2 separate regions of the Homo sapiens genome follow, and region 1 is linked to region 2. The links are contacts of gene promoters, found by promoter capture Hi-C in blood cells and fetal thymus (Javierre and others, 2016). All regions are on one chromosome and are shown on one strand. Each heading gives the region's core, a stretch centred on a gene start or on the middle of the fragment in contact. The rest is flanking DNA. Distances are from core to core; before and after follow the strand shown. Region 1 holds the start of LOC124903476 (a long non-coding RNA gene). Region 2 holds the start of VPS18 (VPS18 core subunit of CORVET and HOPS complexes).

Region 1 (6,504 bases), core at 3,869-6,368, 85 kb before region 2:
TGACTGCCCCAACTTTAAACTCTATTATTGTGGCAGATATTCATAAGCTCTTTTTTTTTTTTTTCTTTTGAGCTGGGGTCCAATTTCTGGGCTCAAGTAATCCTCCCACCTCAGCCTAAGTAGTTGGAATTACAGGCATGTGCCACAGTACTCGACTGAAATACACACAAACTCCTGTTAAGCTATCCCTTCTTCCTTATGCAGTTTTTCTTCCGTAAAAATATGCTAATTGAGAAGTTTATAAACTAAAGAATAAAAGTTCTGTTATCCTTTTCTTCCCAAATCCCGCTTTTCTTTTGGGGTGCATCCTCACACGTTTTCCATATTTATCCGTGTGTTCCCAGAAGAAAAAAGAAGATGAATTGGATGGGAAAAGGAGAAAAGAGGGTGTGAACCTGGTGATCCCATTTGTTCCCTCGGCTGATAACTCCAACCTCTCTGCTGACGGAGATGACTCCTTCATTAGCGTGGACTCAGCCATGCCAAGCCCTTTCAGTGAGGTGAGGCTCCTTTTAGATGCCTGCATCACAGCCGTAAGGAGTGTCCTGACCGTGTAGCAGGGACACACTGCTGGGCAGTCTTTGCTTCTCCTGGAGTTCTCCAGCCTTGTTGAAGTAGGTTGCACATGAGGTCTGTAAGGAGAAAAACAAATGAGGACAGGTTGGTTTCTCAGAAGCCAAAGCAGCCTCAACTGTGAAGCATGTTCCTAGCTGGGTGCAAGGCCATGGGCGGTGAGCACAGGGGGTCGTAATGATCTTAACCCTTCCTCTTCTAGATCTCCATCAGCAGTGAGCTGCACACTGGCTCCATTCCCCTGGACGAGAGCAGCAGTGACATGCTGGTCATTGTGGATGACCCAGCCTCCTCAGCCCCTCAGTCTCGAGCTACCAACTCTCCCGCATCCATAACAGGCTCCGTCTCAGATACCGTGAATGGTAATTGCTGCTGTCTTGTACAGCTTGGGCCTGGTCCACTGCCCAGCACTGGTTTGGTTGTGGGTAAGGTCCTGATTCCTTCTAGGATAATGGTATTTTTATTCTTTCAATAGCTTTGTCAAGTGAAATGAGAAAACGAGGTTTAGGGAAAGCAAAATAAGTAACTTTATAAAGATTTAAAACTTTTCTAGTCATCCCCGACTTTCAGATTCACCATTATTTTTGCTGATTTTTAATTAATGTTAGCTTTTCTGGGCCTTTCCTCACTTTGCTGTGTGGGGTCTAGTGTTGCTGCCATTTCTTGGGGAGCTCTGGGTTCAAAACTCGAGGGTAAAATTTGACTCTCCAAGGCAAGAGCACATTAGAGTGTGCAGATGAGTCCCAGGTAGCAAGTCGCTTCCCTTTGTAATGGACAAATTTAAAGAGGAAACTCAGGAGTAATGTAACTGCTCTTCAGAATGAAAAGCAGCTTGAGGAGTTAGGATGTTTTCATTGTTTAGAATTCTTAGTATTCTGTGTGACTCAGTGGTCTAGCCATCATTAAGTGGAGACATAGACCTCCTCATGGGTCCTAAAACAAATGCCCTAAGAGCTCGCTTTCCCTGTCAGGAGAAGGTGATGTTAACATCTTGGAGATTGACTTTTTTTTTTTTTCTTTCCCTTTTGGCCCATTTGTTCCCACAGGAATTTCCATTCAGGAAATGCCAGCTGCAGGACGTGGTCACTCAGCCCGAAGCCGAGGCCGCCCCAAAGGTTCAGGAAGCACAGCCAAAGGAGCAGGGAAGGGCCGGAGCCGAAAGTCCACGGCAGGCAGTGCTGCTGCAATGGCAGGAGCCAAAGCCGGGGCTGCAGCGGCCTCTGCAGCTGCCTATGCCGCATACGGGTACAACGTGTCTAAAGGTACAGAAGCCCAGGGTGGCTGCAGACTTTGTTCTGGTCAGAGACAGTCTAGAAATTCTGTCAGTCAGGTAGAACATGTAGGAAACCCTGAAGCCGGGAGCTTTCTTCCTAGAGCCCCAATTGGGGTTCTTCTTCTTTGTAATAAGCACTGTTGACTCACCCCTTGCCCTCCTGACGGTACAGGGCTGTCTGTGGATTGGAAGTAGTTGTAAAAAGGGAGAGCTGAATTGTGAACTGTACTACTTTAAACATTCTGAATTTTTCTTGCTTTGGGGATTTGTTTTCTTCCTAGGCTTTCATTTCTGAGATCCACATTTTAGTAATCCAAATTAGCATAGTTAACGTTCATTCAGCTGTGTGATTTATCACCTAGATATGAGGCACCTGCTGCATGCATAGGCGTATACCACATGGGCCAGGCACAGTGGCTCACACCTGTAATCCCAACACTTTGGGAGACTGAGGCAGGCAGATCACTTGAGGCCAGGAGTTCGAGACCAGCCTGGCCAACATGAGGAAACCCTGTCTCTACCAAAAAACACAAAAAATTAGATGGGCGTGGTGGCTCACGCCTGTAGTCCCAGCTACTTGGGAGGCTGAGGCACGAGAATTGACTGAACCCTGGAGGTGGAGGTTTCAGTGCACTGAGATCAGGTCACTGCACTCCAGCATGGGTGACAGAGCAAGACTCTCTCAAAAACTAAAAAACGTAAAAAGGAGTATTCCACATGGACCTTGCTCCTGAGTGTATAATAGCAATGAGAAGGGGAAGCCATGCATGCAGTACTCTTAACAGCAATCCACGGCAAAATACAGGGGAATGAAAAGAAGGCAGCCACAGCAGTTGTAGGTCAGGAGGAGAGGGAACCATGGTCCTGCTGATAAGTTGCCTGTCTGTATTCAAAAGGGAGGAGAAGAATGAGGAAGGATTTGGACTGGTGACAGAGAGCTGGCAGTGGCCAAGGCATACTGGGGGTCACTGAGCAGCTTAGGTTCCATGGAAGAGGAGCAGTAGGAGTCAAGGTTGTAAACACATGGCGAGGCCTGCTGGGCAGGAGCTTAGCAGATGTGTGACAAGGGGCTGCAGACAGTTTGAGGAAAAAAGTGGCTGTTGTGACCGTGATATGTGAAGGATGATTGTAGCTATAAAGTACAGGACATTTGAGTGTGGTGAGAAAGAGAGAGCCACTTACAGACCTTTCTTCCCATTCAATACGTGGGCTTAGTATGAGCTCATAGTTGTAGCAAGTAAAGGCATACTAGTATAGAAAGTGCTTGGAGTGTAGTAATTGCTCAGTAATTGTTAGTTTACTTGCCTTTTCTCTTACTGCAGAAATCTCAGCTTTCATTTATTGGTTCTTCCAGGAAATATGAAGTATGATAGAGGAAATATGAAGTATAATAGCCTCGCCCAGTGTTTCTTAGCCCTTTGCCAACTTACCACATCCTTGGAAAACAACAGTCATGCCAGTAGTCCAGGCTGCCGTGGCAGGGTCTCACCCATGGCTGGGGCATTGCATATACTCATCAGGGTTTCTCCTCAGAACCTGCACTGTGTAGAGGGCAGAAAGGGTGAGGGAGATAGAGGGGGTAGAGCAGCACAAGAAAAACCAACAGTGCTTGGCAACTGGAAATGGAAATCAAGGGAAAGGAGTGGTTCAGAGAGTACCCGTGGTTCCACTGTGGATGAGGAGAGAGACATGTCTGCCCATCAAGCACTTAGAATTCTTTTTTGGAAAGTAAAACCAGTACATATGAAACAATTGAAGAATCAATGTGTTATCACATGTAAGTGGATTTGGCTTATGTAGGAAAAAGGGAAGTTCACTGTTGCCCAGGGAGTCATCACTCAAGATGGGGGATTTGAGCTGTGCCCTTGAAGTGACACAGGCCTTGGAGAGCAGGGGTGGCCATTGCCAGCGCAAGGAGAACTGTATGAATATAGACACAGGATAGAGAGTGGGCAGCCTTGTACCCTCTGGCCCGACTTACTGGAGAGTAGCAGGAGCATGAAATTGAAAAGGAAACATCTTATCAAACTTGATGTTCCAAGAAAGAAGAAAGGAAAAACCTGTTTGTGCCTAGTAAGTTACAGCTCTCATCCTGTAACTTTGGTGTCTCAGATTGTAAAATGTGTGCTCTATCTAGAGTGTCAAGATGAACATTTTACCATCTGTGGATGAAGTAGTATAGAGAGGGTTGGGTAGGTATCATTTTCTCTTAAAAATCTATTCCTCTTACTGAAAAGACAGTTGACAGGAAGAGCAAGCAAACATGCCAAGAAGTTGTTAGCAAGGAGTGGCAGGGAGGAATTGCCCACCACTTCTCCTCCAGCTCAGACTCTGGTAACCAAGGCCACAGGCTCCAAGGAAGCTTACGCGGGACTGGTGCTTACGTTCTTGTCTCTCTCCGTCCCCACAGGAATCTCCGCCAGCAGTCCTCTGCAGACATCCCTTGTTCGGCCTGCTGGCCTTGCTGACTTTGGACCTTCAAGCGCCTCTTCTCCTTTGAGTTCCCCTTTGAGCAAGGGAAATAATGTTCCTGGGAATCCCAAGAACCTCCACATGACCAGCAGCCTAGCCCCAGACTCTCTGGTCCGGAAACAGGGCAAAGGCACCAACCCCTCTGGAGGACGGTAACCATCTGGGCCCTCCGACTTCCTTCAACCAAACCAGGGCTAGAGTCCTGACCTGCCAGTGGTCTTTGGATGGCTTGCCCCGTGCAGCATCTTGCATCCTGAGTCAGAAGTGGAAATGTCCAGCAGGGGAAGGACAGGCAGGTGGATGGTGTGAGCACTTTTATCATCTGTGTCTCATCAGGAGCATCTGGGGTGCCTGTAGGAGGAAGGCCACAGGGCATGGATCAGCCCCACTGCATCTCAAGTGAACTGTATAGCCAAGTCTTAAACCTCTCACGGGGCAAGCCTGACACAGACCCCCTTTAGATGCTCAGGCATACTGTTTCCATCCCGATTCCACTCTTCGGCTCTGACACGTCCCTTGCAAAGTCTCCGCAGGTGCTGTGAAGAGCCTTCCATGGTAGAGATTTCTCTTAAGAGTGTGATTTCTCATAGGGCTAGTAAGGGAGATTGTATACCTGTTGTCCACAGTCTTCAGGCAGCTCCCCAGGTCTCTGAACCCCAGAGTGTCATCATTGGAGAGAGCAGTGACTGCGAGAGATGGTGGAGGCCGCTAAGCATGGTAGAGGCTAGAGGAAGTCTATCCACAGGCAGTTGTGTTCCCAGCAATTCCTCCCATCCTGCATGGTTCACACCAAGAGAACCTTCAGATCCTACCAGCAACCGTAGCACCTTCCACCCAGGGGACTCCCAGAAGCCAGTAGAGAGACCAGGAGCCACCTCAATCAGCAGGACAGCCTCACTGCCCCTCTTGCAGAGTCCCCTTTGCCCATCCTGAATGCACAGTCTCCCTGCTCATGCCCTTCAGTCCCCTGCTTGGCTGTATGCACTGTCTATATTGCACTGAGAGAGGAAGGGACAGCAGGAGTGAGGTGAAGAGGGCGGAGAGAGGGGGCAGGCTCGGCACCGGCCCTCCCAGCCCGGCCAGCCTGAGCTTGCTGCCCTCCAGTAGAGACAGAGGGGCAGTGTTTGCATGGGAGGTGTTTCTGCCTGTCCCTGCCTGATGTCCCTGGTGGAGCAGGTACCTCCGGGCGGGCAAGCCTCTGATTTGCACACCTGAAAATCGCGGAATTGAGTTTCGATAGATTGATTTTTAAAACTTTTTTGGAGTAGGGGGTATAGGGGAATCATTTAATTTAAATCATTAAGATTCCCCTGCTCAAACCCAGATTCCTGTGTACAGATGCTATTTAGAGGGAATCAGAAAAATGCCAAGCCTTTTCTCTTTGAATGTGCTATTTTTATAACTGAACTTGTACATATGTATAAAGAGAGACACATCTTCCTTTTACTAACTGGATAAAAAAATCTTAAATAAAATGGAGTGAGATAATTTTATGTAAATTGAGGTGTCTGTGGTCTTTGCAGCTGCCCCTCCTTGGAGGCAAACTAGAGCCCTTGGTGGATGTGGCAGGATACAGGGAAAGCAGAGCCCTCGCCTGTGATCAGAGAGGACAGGGGTTGGTGGGACAAGGAGTGGACTGTGGGTGTTTCCTTAGTAGCAGAATTGATTGGGCTTATGAATTTGCCTCTGGCCATCAGAAAGGAAGCTTGACCAACTGTCTGACATGCAGTGGTCAACGCCCTTGTCTCCATGGTGGGCTCTTTATGACTCAGGACTTAGACCCCAGGACTGAGGTGTGGGCGGCTTGGCCTAGGCGCCATTAAGCAGAGCTACATAGTGGTCATCTTAATAGTGGCAGTGTTCTCAAAGTTAGCTGCACTCTTAAGAATCATGAAAGAAAATGGTGAAATACATTCCTAAGGATGCCAGAGACATCCAGGCTGTGAAAACTTACCTTGGTGATAGTTGGGAAAAGAGCCCTAGTTCCCAGCCTGGCCTGGCAGCCAGCGTTTCTCTGACTGGGTGAAACACTGATAAGCTCTTGTATCACTTTTGGGTAGGGCTCATGTGGTTCCCAAGTATGCTGGCTGTGTGGCCTCCCTAGCCTTGCTCACCCTGCACGCTGTTGGTCAGGGTGGGCTGGCTCCTGGGCAGCTGATGCCCACCACAGTCACAAGGATCAGCCT
Region 2 (6,272 bases), core at 2,112-4,611:
GGGAAGATAGGCAGAGATATCCCAGATTGCTGAGGTAAGAAGGGAACAACAAAGAGTAGCTCATAGTTACTGGGCACTTTTATATACCAAGCACCATGCCAAGAGCTTCATCAATCTAGTATTATCTCAATTAATCTTGACAAAAACCTTGAGAAGTACTCCTGTTTATATTTTCCTTATGAAATTCTTTCCAAATTATATGCTTGTTCTAACTAAAGAATCGATGCAAAGATGTATAAAGAATGACTTAATTTTCTTCTCAAACTCCTGTTATTCCCAACTGAGAAAATTCATGTTAACATCTTTTTTCATACTCATAACATAAATAGGGTGGTTTTGTTGCTGTCATTATAAAAATGCCTTCATATTGCACATATGTGTATGTGTCTTAATTTGTAAATTTTCTAAATTAATGATATTTCATGAACATTCCACTAGTCAATCGATATAGCTCTAACTTTTTTTGTTTTTACCCCCAAACCCAGCTTTCCAGGATAACTCTTTTTTTTTTTTTCAGACAAAGTCTTGCTCTTGTCATCCAGGCTGGAGTGCAGTGAGCATGATCTCGGCTCACTGCAACCTCTGCCTCCCGGGTTCAAGCCATTCTCCTGCCTCAGCCTCCCAAATAGCTGGGATTACAGGCACCTGCCACCACACCCTGCTAATTTTATATTTTTAGTAGAGAAGGGGTTTCTCCATGTTGGCCAGGCTGGTCTTGAACTCCCGACCTCAGGTGATCTGCCTGCCTCAGCCTCCCAAAGTGCTGGGATTACAGGCGTGAGCCACCTCGCCCAGCCAGGATAATTCATTTTTTTAAACAACTGCATTATATTCTATTTTGTGGCTGAATTGCAGTTTAATCACCATTTTCCTATTGATGAGCATTCAGCATGGATCCAGTTTTTCCCACCACAAGAATGCTCTAATCAATACTCTAATACTCTTAAGTCTACACTCCTAAACAGTTTTTTTTTTTTTCCTTTTCCTTTTTTTTTTTTTGAGATGGAGTCTCACTGTTGTCGCCTGGGCTGGAGTTCAATGGTGCAATCTCAGCTCACTGCAACTTCCGGCTCCCAGGTTCCAGCAATTCTCCTGCCTCAGCCTCCCCAGTAGCTGAGATTACAGGCGCCTGCCACCACGCCCGGCTAACTTTTGTATTTTTAGTAGAAACAGCGTTTCACCATGTTGGCCAGGCTGGTGTCGAACTCCTGACCTCAGGTGATCCACCCTCCTCAGCCTCCCAAAGTGCTGGGATAACAGGTGTGAGCCACTGCACCTGACTTTTTTTTTTTTTTAAAGAGACAGGAGTACAGTGGTGCAAACACAGCTCACTGCAGCCTTGAACTCCTGGGCTCAAGTGATCCTCTTGCCTCGGCCTCCCCAGTAGTTGGGACTGCACCATCACACCTAGCTAATTTTTAAAAATTTGTTTTGGTAGAGACGGGGGTCTCACTATATTGCCCAGGCTGGTCTCAAACTGCTGATTTCATGTGATCCTCTTGTCTTGGCCTCCCGAAGTGCTGAGATGATAGGTGTGAGCCACCATGCCCTGCCAGGCCAGATACTTAACCACTACCCTGTATTGGTTCTCTTTGGAAAGGGATAGGATATTTCCTGAAAACTCCAAATTCACTGCTTTACTTGCCTGGAATAGAAGAAAGGCCCAGTGAGTTAACAGTCCCCAAACACCTCTCTAGTCCCTACTCCTAAGCTCTGTGAGCTCTTGATTACCGGAGCAGTGTATCCTTGCCCAGGCTCATGCACAGCTGATTGCTGGAGACGACAAGACTGGTAATGCGCTCGGAAGGGGTGAAGTCAATGCGCTGCTTTGTGAAGATGGGCACTTCCTTCTCCAGCTGGGCATTCACATACCCTACAGGTAAGGAATGACAAGAAGATTAGCTGTGGAAGAGACAGGTGAAGGGCAAGGAGAGGCAGAAAAAACACCACAGTGCTCCTCGCCACTTTCCTGACATATTCCTATCCCCAGGACCTTGGTTAACAAATAGTTTGATATCAAGTCGTTTGCTGGTCACCTTTACAATAGAGGTCTGGAGCTCTTTCCACACTCTGACAGCAGTGAGGGGTTGATTCTTTGAACCCTTAAGATGCTGTCACAGCATGATATACCTGCTCCCACTGGTAATGGGGCTGCGTGGAGGTGGGACGGGACTGGTGGTCTGGGTATTCTCCCTTATCAGGTCTTTGGCCCAGCAATCCCAGCTTAACTGAAGTAGTATAGCCCCATTCTCTGCCCCCCTCCCTGCCCATGCGGTAATGAGCCTCAGTGTAGAGTTGGCAAGTGCTGGGATATTTTGAGCATTGAATGAAGGTAAAGACTAGAGTGAAAGCAGCTCCAATTCGTTAACTCCACTCACTGGAACAGTTCCCCAGGGCTCCCTATGCCCTCATTCTCCTGGAGACTCACTACTTTCTACAAAAACGTCCCCAAACTCCAGGCTGCACCCAGCTATAGCCAAGGCCAAAAAGATTTCATCTCCATTTTCCCCGTTCAGCGACAAAATTCCCTCTGGGACCCTCCCTTCTTCCTCTGCAATACTCCGCCTTCACCACTTTCTTTGTCCATTCCTTCCCTCCCACCTCCAGAAGGGGCCTGGTGGGAAAAGCATCAGCAGAAGCCGGGAGCCCATTCTAAGTTCTCCCAACAGCCCAACTGCGCCCTGTAGGTGAGTAATTCCTTATCTGGGCCCCAATTCCCTCTCAAAAGGACCCTAGCGGTAGAGCCTAGATCACGCGGCAGCTCCCGTTGCTCTTTCAAACTTCGACTATCCACCAGCTGGGGGCCAAGAGAGCCTGAGGAGAATCAGGGGCCTAGACCCGGAAGGCACGGCCCAGGGGATGACCCCGAGCTCTTGGAGCTGCCCTCCTCGCTGCTCCCACGCAAATGCTAGGAGAGCCGAAAGGGGCAGCGGCACCCTCCTCTTCCTTACCCGAGTGGGGGATGCCCACGCTAGGGCAGCCGGGCTGCAAGACGGCCGAGCGGGACAGCGAGTTCTCGTACTCATCCAGGATGGACGCCATGGTGCCCGGCCTCTGGGCTCTTTGTCCGGGGCCTGGGGATTACAAAAGGGCTACCCCCCCGGGGTCCCCGTCGCCCCAGAATGGAAGCTGTAACTCCCCAGCCTCTGACAGATCCTGGGAACCTGCAGCCGTCGCCTCCTCTTTAAAATCCTGAGGATCCTCTTGCTCTTGCCTTATGCAGCGAGATAATCGGGCAGCCCTCGTCCTTGAATCTGGCGCAGTCTTGCACCTTACTCCCCGCCCCCGCTACAAAAAAATCACAGGCTCCCTTCAGCCGGTGCCAGGTGATCCCAACCTCGCCCCGGCAGCTCAGCTGACTCCCGCCCCCGTGACGCGGGCCTAAAACGTAACTTCCGGGTTCTCAGAGCCCCGCGTACGCTGGCGCACAACGTCGCCGGGCCAGCCAGCAGAAGGCGAGACGAGGGCTGAGGGCTGGGCGCGTGGCGAGTGCTGCTGAACACAAGCCCCGCCCCCAGGATCCTGCTGCAGTTCCGAGCTTTGACACCAGGAGGCAATCCCGGCTTTCTCAGCCGGCCTTCCCCACCCGCCCCGCGCCGCCCAGTTTTGGCTTTCGTGCCCAAGCTCCGCTCCCTCGGGTGGTCTGTCCAGCCTCCCTGACCAGCTCCCGCTCCCGCCTCTCTAAACAGCCTCGGGGAACCTCCCGTTCCTCAATCCAATCGCTGTCTCTATCCCACCGTCACAGGGCACACGCAGACAACTCCTGGCCACTCTTCTCCCTTACCCAAAGGCCCCCCAGCTTCCAGGAGACCGCAGAGCTGGTGGCCAGGCTAGTGGGAAGCCCTGTGCCAGGAACCGCCCTGACCTGCCCCACAGTGGCTCCTTGGCTCAGGGTTGCTGGGCCGCTTCCATTCACTCATTCACCAAAATGTGGTTGAGCACTTACTCTGTGCCAGGCCTTGGGCTGGGCGCTGGGGTCACAGAGATGAGGACAGCCCCTCCCCGCCCTGGAAAAGGTCGTAAGCCAGCAGGGGCGCTGGACCCGTAAATAGACCATTCATACTAGAAAAGCAAGTGATGGATTATCCATCAGGCACTTACTCCACGAATGAGCGTCCACTCTGTGCCAAGCACTGTTCCAGGCTCTGGGGACGTGGCAGAGAACAAGACGGAAAATGTCTCTTGCCTGGTGGGGCGTACCCAGCGACGTGGCCACGGCACTGAGAGCGTGAAGGAGCAGGGAACAAATACCTGCCAAGCCTAGCAAGAACGAGGGACAAGTGGGAGCAAGCGTGAAGGCGGGGGCCGCCCAGCCTGAGGTGGAGAGGGGAGTCCTCAGCCAGGGACCTGCGAGGGCTGGGGCGCGACTGTGGTTGGGTTTTCCTCTCTCACCTGCTTAGGCGACCCAGATGGAGTCTGTTCCCTTCTGGGGCCCTTGGATTCTACCTTGCTAAAGTGGAAGGCTCTGGACTAGGGTCGCCACCGTCCTGGCTCTGCTGGGCGGCCCCCGCCTAACAACTAAGAGCATCCCTTTGCTCTCAGAAGTTTCCAGGTTTGCACCATACCTTATGTGGTTGGGTTACTCTTGCTCAACTTCCTGGCCACGTGCGGAGAACTGTGACTCTCACCAGCCCCACTGAGGGCTATCTGGGCTCTCTGGCTTGGAGGGGCACTAGTCCTGGGGCAGGTGACAAGTATGCTGTCCAGGCTCATTTCCCTTCGCACCAGGGTCCTGCTTCTCTTGACCAAGCCTGCAGCCTCAATGCAGCCTTCCCACCTGAGGTTGCCAGGTCCCAGGAGGGAAGTGCAGGAGCAGGACAATAGGCAGGAGGCTTCCTCTAAGAAAAGTGATCCCAGACAGGGAGCTGCCCTGCTCCATACATAACACTTCACCCCCAGGTCACCTGCCATCTGCCCTCAGGTCTGGACTGTGCAGAGGGTTGTCCCTGCTGCACAGAGCCCATTAGCAGTTGGAGGTCAGCATAGGAGTGCTGCCTTAGGGACACAGAGTACTTCCAGCTACAGCCTCAGGGACCCCAGCACCCCATTGTTGGGCTCCATGGCTCTCCGGGATGTATGGGATAGGCCTGGGTGGACCCTGTTTGTGGCAGACTCAGTACAGTCTCCCTTATGCGTTGATTACCACAGTGCATTTCCACCTACTCATTCTTCAGTTCTTAGGCTGGACTTTGGATTCTTTGAGAGCCACAGAATCAAGTGTGGCAGTTGCAATGAGACAGGTAAGGGATGACTGCTAGGGCATCAAAAGAGAGGATTCCTGTATGAAAGCAGCTGAATTTGACCCAAGACTTGAAGTGCATGTATGATCTCCAAGGGCAAGCTGTATCTCTTATCCCTGCCCAGCCACTTGCTAGCTGTGACACTGCACAGTTGATGCTCTTAGCTTCAGTTTCCTCATCTACAGAGACAAATACCTACCTAGTAGGTCTGTGCTGAGAAGTAAATGAGGGATCCACGTGAAAGCTCACTGCTATAGTATAATGCCCAACATGGAGCATGTGCTTAATAAACTCTAAATGTGACTTTCATCTGACAGTCTCTCTCAAGTCCTCCTCCTTCCTGAAGCCTCTCTGGATCCCTCAGAACTCTTTTTAGAGATGGGATCTTGCTCTGTCACCCAGGCTGGAGTGCAGTGATGTGATCATAGCTCATCTAAACACCTGGGCTCAAACCATTCTCCTGTCTCAGCCTTCCCAGTAGCTGGGATTACAGGTGCGAGCCACTGCGCCCAGCTGGCTTTTCTTATTCTGGCCACTTGGGGGCCCCTAATGATGCAGTGTGGACATTTTGCTTTGATAGAAACTGCAGGAAATAACCCAGTGATTTCTGAGCATGAAGATACAGAGGTGCCTTAGGGAACTCACAGCTAGAGACATACGCACCAGCCTCTAGTCCTCAGAGTCATTGTAGCAGTTACCATGAGACAGGTAACAGGTGACTGCTAAGCCAATGAGAGAGAGGATCTGTGTAAGAAAGCAGTTGAATTTGACCTAAGACTTGAAGAGCATGTAGGACCTCTAAGGGCAAAAAGAGAAGGTATTATGCAGTCCTCAAGAAAACCAAGAGCAGGGCTGAGCACGGTGGCTCACACCTGTAATTCCAGCACTTTGGGAGGCTAAGGTGGGAGGATCACTTGAGTCCAGTAGTTTGAGACCAGCCTAGCCAACGTGGCAAAACCCCATCTCTATTAAAAATACAAAAACTAGCCAGGTGTGGTGGTGCATGCCTGTGGTCCCAGCTACTCGGGAGGC

Evidence for each region. The method cuts DNA at HindIII sites, captures the fragments that hold promoters and counts their contacts. A CHiCAGO score of 5 or more calls a contact.
Region 1: a contact is called between a fragment that was not itself captured here and the fragment with the promoter of VPS18 in region 2, in 1 of 17 cell types (erythroblasts). The highest score is 5.4, in erythroblasts.

What each region holds. Positions count from the first base shown.
Region 1 is chr15:40,978,193-40,984,696 of GRCh38, reverse strand. It overlaps INO80 (INO80 complex ATPase subunit), which reads left to right. Exons shown (of 36, transcript NM_017553.3): 33 at 345-500; 34 at 776-935; 35 at 1,620-1,835; 36 at 4,257-5,817. The coding sequence ends at 4,474. It overlaps LOC124903476 (a long non-coding RNA gene), which reads right to left and starts at 4,320. Exons shown (of 3, transcript XR_007064602.1): 1 at 4,231-4,320; 2 at 3,277-3,387; 3 at 494-632. The HindIII fragment of the contact is 1,815 bases long and covers 4,211-6,025 here.
Region 2 is chr15:40,891,539-40,897,810 of GRCh38, reverse strand. It overlaps VPS18 (VPS18 core subunit of CORVET and HOPS complexes), which reads right to left and starts at 3,361. Exons shown (of 5, transcript NM_020857.3): 1 at 2,952-3,361; 2 at 1,732-1,873. The coding sequence starts at 3,042. RefSeq lists an enhancer at 2,546-2,635 and silencers at 3,476-3,645, 5,767-5,816. The HindIII fragment of the contact is 16,460 bases long and covers 1-6,272 here.